Linked DNA regions of Homo sapiens: region 2 is linked to region 1. The links are contacts of gene promoters, found by promoter capture Hi-C in blood cells and fetal thymus (Javierre and others, 2016). All regions are on one chromosome and are shown on one strand. The core of a region is centred on a gene start or on the middle of the fragment in contact, and the rest is flanking DNA. Distances in the headings are between cores, read along the strand shown.

Evidence for each region. Contacts are between HindIII fragments. The CHiCAGO score rates a contact against its expected background, and 5 or more counts as called.
Region 2: a contact is called between a fragment that was not itself captured here and the fragment with the promoter of SCARF2 in region 1, in 1 of 17 cell types (M0 macrophages). The highest score is 5.6, in M0 macrophages.

Annotation. Positions count from the first base shown.
Region 1 is chr22:20,436,540-20,439,239 of GRCh38, reverse strand. It overlaps SCARF2 (scavenger receptor class F member 2), which reads left to right and starts at 1,415. Exons shown (of 11, transcript NM_182895.5): 1 at 1,415-1,658. The coding sequence starts at 1,486. LOC107985588 (a long non-coding RNA gene) reads right to left here and starts at 1,244. Exons shown (of 2, transcript XR_001755623.2): 1 at 729-1,244. The HindIII fragment of the contact is 6,009 bases long and covers 1-2,700 here.
Region 2 is chr22:20,149,473-20,152,172 of GRCh38, reverse strand. It overlaps CCDC188 (coiled-coil domain containing 188), which reads left to right and starts at 1,118. Exons shown (of 9, transcript NM_001365892.2): 1 at 1,118-1,705; 2 at 1,923-2,030; 3 at 2,114-2,218; 4 at 2,393-2,449; 5 at 2,533-2,592; 6 at 2,697-2,700. The coding sequence starts at 1,187. The HindIII fragment of the contact is 1,653 bases long and covers 604-2,256 here.

The DNA.
Region 1 (2,700 bases), core at 166-2,665:
CTGCCCAGAAGTGGTTGGCCTGTTTATTTGTCCCCAGGTAGTTGCATTCGTGTCCACACTAGTTCCACTTCTCTTTCAGCCCACCCCACCTCCCTCCTGCACCAGCATGGCTGAGTGAGGGGCCTGCTCCTCCCCATCCCACTCTCTGCCTGTGCCAGCCTGGTGATGCCCATGGCCTTGGGCCTTTCAGTGGCTCCTCCTCCAAGCCCCCTCCTCCAGCCCCACCCTTCGGGGCTATCTGGCCACACCTGGACAGAGTCTGCCTGCCCTCCCTCAGTGAGCCTGTGGGCCGCATGTGGCCTGCTCCCCAAAGAACGGAGGTGCCCGCTCCCTGCTTAGGCCTTCTGCCAGCTCTCAAGTCCCCAAAAGACAAACATCCTCACTAGGACCTGGCTACACACGGGACATTTGTGCTCCCTGCCCAACTTCCAGAGTCGGTCTGCCCCAGTTGCCCCCCGGGGACCCGCACCCTGCTGCCTCCCAGTCCAAGTCCAGCTTCCCCGCTGGCTCCCTAGGGCCTGTCCCTCTGTCTTGCTCCCTTCCCACACCTTCCTTCTGCTCTGTGCTGTTACCCACCTTACCTGATGCAGGAGTTCCCACTCTCTAGCCCCAGCCTCTCCTGGAAATCCGACAGCCAGCAGAATCCACCGCCCAGGCTCCCCCAGCCCCCTTCACTCCTCAACTAGGACTGCAGGGTTTCCATCCCGGGGGTCTCCTTCTGTCTTTACCTCTACTTCCTACCGCAGTCCACAGCCTGGCCATTCTACTTCCTCTGTATCTCTCCCATCCGTCCCTACGGAGACCCCTTCCCCCAGGCCTCTGGTCCGGACCGAGTCTACCACAGGCCTCAAGCATCCTGCTCGGTCCGCCCCTTGCGAGCTCTGAGTGCGCAGGAGTGCGCAGGGGGAGCTGACCGCACACCCCAGCACTACAAGGACTTCGCGGTGGGGTGCTGTGGAGTTGGCTTTCGGCCTCGACCTGGGCTGTCTGCGGGCCCCACTCCCTTGGCCGGTTCCGAGGCGCTGGGAGCGGGGGTGGGCTTGCGGAGTCGCGTCCGTGTCCCCGATCCGCCTTCCCGTCCCGGGCCTGGCCTACGCAGTGGGCGCGCAGGGGCGGCTGCTTCGGTAGATGTCTAGGGAGCGGAGGGAAAGGCGCGGGAACCGGGGATTCCTCGGGCGGACCCTCCCTCCACCAGCGCTCGGCGGGCCTCCTCCAAGTTCGCCCCCAAGTTTGCGAGCGGCCAAATGGGGGCGGGGGCTGCGCGGAGGGGCGGTGGCTAGGCCGGAGGGTGGGGTCTGGAGCGCGGGGCGGGCGCTGCCGCCTGGCCGGCCGCGGCTGGCCCGGGATCAGGGAGCCGATGTGGAATTTCCTGCCCGGCTCGGCGCCCCTCCTGCCGCCCCCCGCCCGGCCTCGCACTCCGCTTCCGGCCGCTCTCGCTGCGGCCGCACCCGCGCCCGTGCCCGCCCCGCGCCTGCCCCGCGCCTCATGGAGGGCGCAGGGCCCCGGGGGGCCGGGCCGGCGCGGCGCCGGGGAGCCGGGGGGCCGCCGTCACCGCTGCTGCCGTCGCTGCTGCTGCTGCTGCTGCTCTGGATGCTGCCGGACACCGTGGCGCCTCAGGAACTGAACCCTCGCGGCCGCAACGTGTGCCGTGCTCCCGGGTAGGAGCCGGCCTGGCTGGGGGAGGGGGCGAGAGGGACGCTCTGGGCAGTGGTGTGGCGGCGCCGGGCATTGGGAGGGGGCTACCGGAACCTTCCTACGCCAAGTGTGGGCCCCTTCGGCTCCCTAGCCAGCGCGGCTCCGTTCCAGGCCCAGCCTCGGCCATGGGCCACGACAGTGCATCCCAGGGAACCCTGGACGAGAAGTCACCTGAGGGGAGGATGGAGTGCCGTGGGCACCCAGGGGATGACACGCGTTGTCCGGGATATCAGGAAAGACCTGGAAAAAGGGACCCTTGACCGAGTTGTGAAGTCCACGGGGAAAAGCTGGGGAAGGGCATTCAAGCCAAAGGAACTGCATGTGCTAAAGCCCCGCACTAGTCCGACTGGAGCCGGGAGTGGGAGTGAGGAGGAAGGTCAGGGGAGGAGGAGCGGTGCTAGCCGGGGAGGTCCTGGAGCAAGCCAGACTTGGAAAGACAGATTCGCGTCTTAGAGCGGGCGCGGGTGGGAGGGTGGTGACCCAGGCGAGCGTCGAGGAGCCGGCGCTCGAAGTGGACCAGAAGCGGGAGGCGGAAGGACTATGACAGGCACAGGGGACCGGAGGATGTGGGAACCCTGGCGACAACCAGGTGGGGATTCTGGGTGCAAGAAGGGGCCGCGCAAATGTGGGGCGCCGGCTGGGGAAGCCAGTGTGGGACAGGCAGGCGACAGGCCCGGCCGGTGGGGGGGCGAGTCCGGGAGTTTGCACGGAGGGCAGAGAGGTGAGCCCCGGACGCCAGGAGTTAGGAGCTGGGGTCGGGGGAGCCGGTGGGCTGGCCAAAGGCCACAAGGTCAAGGGCATCTCCACGCAGGGGTGAGGAGCGGGCGTGTGGGGGCGCCTTGGCGCGGATTGGAGACGCCGCACGGGCTGGCAGCCGCAGAGGCGGCCGCCGGGCTCCGAGCTGGGTCGCGTCGGGGCGCCTGAGCCACGGACCCGGGGCAAGCCGAGTCCAGGGGCTCGGCGCCAGAGACAAGGGGCTGCGAGGGGGCAGCGCGGGGTTTCCGA
Region 2 (2,700 bases), core at 181-2,680, 290 kb after region 1:
CCGTTAACAGCGTGGCCTTCGGCAAGTGACTAAAGGGCTTCCTGCCTCAGCTTTCCCACCCATAAACAGAGGATAACAGGCCAGGCGCGGTGGCTCACGCCTGTAATCCCAGCACTTTGGGAGGTGGAGATGGGTGGATCATGAGGTCAGGAGATCGAGACCATCCTGGCTAACACGGTGAAACCCCGTCTCTACTAAAAATACAAAAAAATTAGCCGGGCGCGGTGACAGGCGCCTGTAGTCCCAGCTACTCGGGAGGCTGAGGCAGGAGAATGGCGTGAACCTGGGAGGCGGAGCTTGCAGTGAGCCGAGATTGCGCCACTGCACTCCAGCCTGGGCGACAGAGCAAGACTCCGTCTCAAAAAAAAAAAAAAAAACAGAGGATAACAATGGCATGTACTGGATCTGGCATAATGTAAATATTCAATACATAGCTAGAAAAGAATGTTTTAAAACCTCAGAGATATATTAGGTGAAAAGCAAAGCTGGGCTACAGGATGACCTCTTCTGTGTGAACCAGGGGCAGGGGACGGCAGCCCACCTCTAGGAGCTTAAAGAGGAAGCTCCTGTCTGCAGGGACAGGAGATAAAGGTGGGAAAAGCTTGGACACCATTTTTATTGTTTGATACTTTTTGAATCCACACTGTGAGTGTGTGTATTATCTGTTTTATAACTAGGCTGGGTGCAGTGGCTCACATCCGTAATCCCAACACTTTCAGATATTGAGGTAAGAGGATCGCTTGAGGCCAGGAGTTTGTGACCAGCCTGGGCAACATAGCGAGACCCTTATCTCTACAAAAAACTTAAAAATTAGCCGGGCATGGTTGCACACATCTGTAGTCCTAGCTACTTGGGAGGCTGAGGTGGGAGGATTGCCTGAGCCCAGGAGTTGGAGGCTGCAATGAGACACCTTGTGCCACTGCACTCCAGCCTGGGTGACAGAGCAAGTCCCCTTCCCATAAAAGAAAGAAAGAAAGAAAACTCGCATGGTGGGTCAGTGGGTCAGAGGCAGTGAGGTCATCAGGCGGGGCAGCTTCAGGACCAGGTGGGAGGGGCCCATTGTGACCGCCCTGGCTGCACCCAGGCCTTTGTGACTGTTGCCTGGGGCAGCCCCCTCAGTAAGAGGGTGGCAGGTTGGGCCAGGCCAGAGCCTGGACCTGGGATCAGGAAGGGGTTGCAGGGAGGGATGGAGGGGCTGAAAACCCTGGGCCCCTGCGGCCACCCCCACCCCCAGTGTCCCCCAACCCCAGCCTCCAGCAGCCATGGAGGAGGCCTGGACCAGCCCTGCCAGGGATTTGTAGGGTGGCCCTGCCTGGGCCCCATCTCCTCTGCTCACTCAGTGCAGTCCCAGAGACCTTTCCCAGTCCCAGGGGCAGGGGGCAGTGGGCCCACAGTGGAGGGCGAGGCTCCCGGGCTCTTTCTGTCCAGCCAGGAGCAGAGAGCGAGAGACACTGAGGGGCCGAGACAAGGAGACCTGGAGGCAGGGCTTGGGTGGGGCTGGCCCCTGCACCCAGGGTCGAACCAGGGGGCTCCCAGGCAGGGGGGATCCATTGGCTCAGGGACCAGACCCTGCCCATGCCCACCCCTGTCACGGGAGGGAGGGGCCCTGGCCTCGCCCAGGGTAGCCCTGTCCCAGCTTCAGTGCGGGCTGCTGGGCTCTGCAGAACAGTCCTTCCTGCAGCTGGAGCAGGAGAACCACAGCCTGGTGAGCACCCCACCCACCGCCCCAGCCCCAGCCCCAGCCCCACCCACCGCCTGGTACCCCTGCCCCAGCCCCAGCCCCACCCACCACCTGGCGCCCCTGCCCCTGCCCCTGCCCCAGCCCCAGCCCCACCCACCACCTGGCGCCCCTGCCCCTGCCCCAGCCCCAGCCGCAGGAGCGGCCATGACAGGCAGCCCCCTCTCTCTGCCCCCCACCCCAGAAAAGGCAGAATCAGGAACTTCGGGAGCAGCTGGGGGCCCTCCTGGGGCCGGGGCAGCAGTTCCTGCCCCTGTGTCCCGAACACTCAAGCTGCACTGCTCTGGCCTGGGTAAATACAGGGCCCAGGGACCCCATGCAGCCAACGCCCCTCTAGCCCGCAGTCTTAGGGCTGATCTGGGGGCTCTCCCACAGCCCCCCGACCCGGCTGGCACGCAGCCCTTGGGGAACAGGGCACCTCTGCAGCTGCTGCGGCGGGAGCTGTGCCAGGGGCAAGAGGCTTTCGTGCAACAGTCCCAGGTGGGCCTGGGGGAGGGGCTGTGGGGGGGGAGGAAGCTTCGTAACAGCACTCCAGGTGGGCCTGAGGGATTCATTAGGGAGGGAGGTCTTCGTGCAGTAGGCCAGTGGGCCCAGCGGGGAGGTACTGGCCACCCTGCTGATGCTGCCCAAGCCCATCCTGGGCCCCACCCTCAGAACGAGCTGCAGCAGATCCGCCTGTGCTTTGAGAGGAAGAAGATGGTCATCACAGAGGTGCCCGCCTGGCTGAGGGGGAGGGGTGCTGGGGGCCCACCCAGTGGGTCCTGCTCCTCAGGCGTGACCCCACCTCCCCCTAGGTGTGGGACAACGTGGCTGAGATGCACATGGCCCTGAACAACCAGGCCACCGGGCTCCTGGTAGGTCCCCACAGGGCAGCACCCAGAAGGACGGGGCCCGGCGGGCGAGAGGCCACGGAGGGCGGGGCGAGGGGCCTGCTGTGCTTACCTCCTCTGGCCCCCAGAACC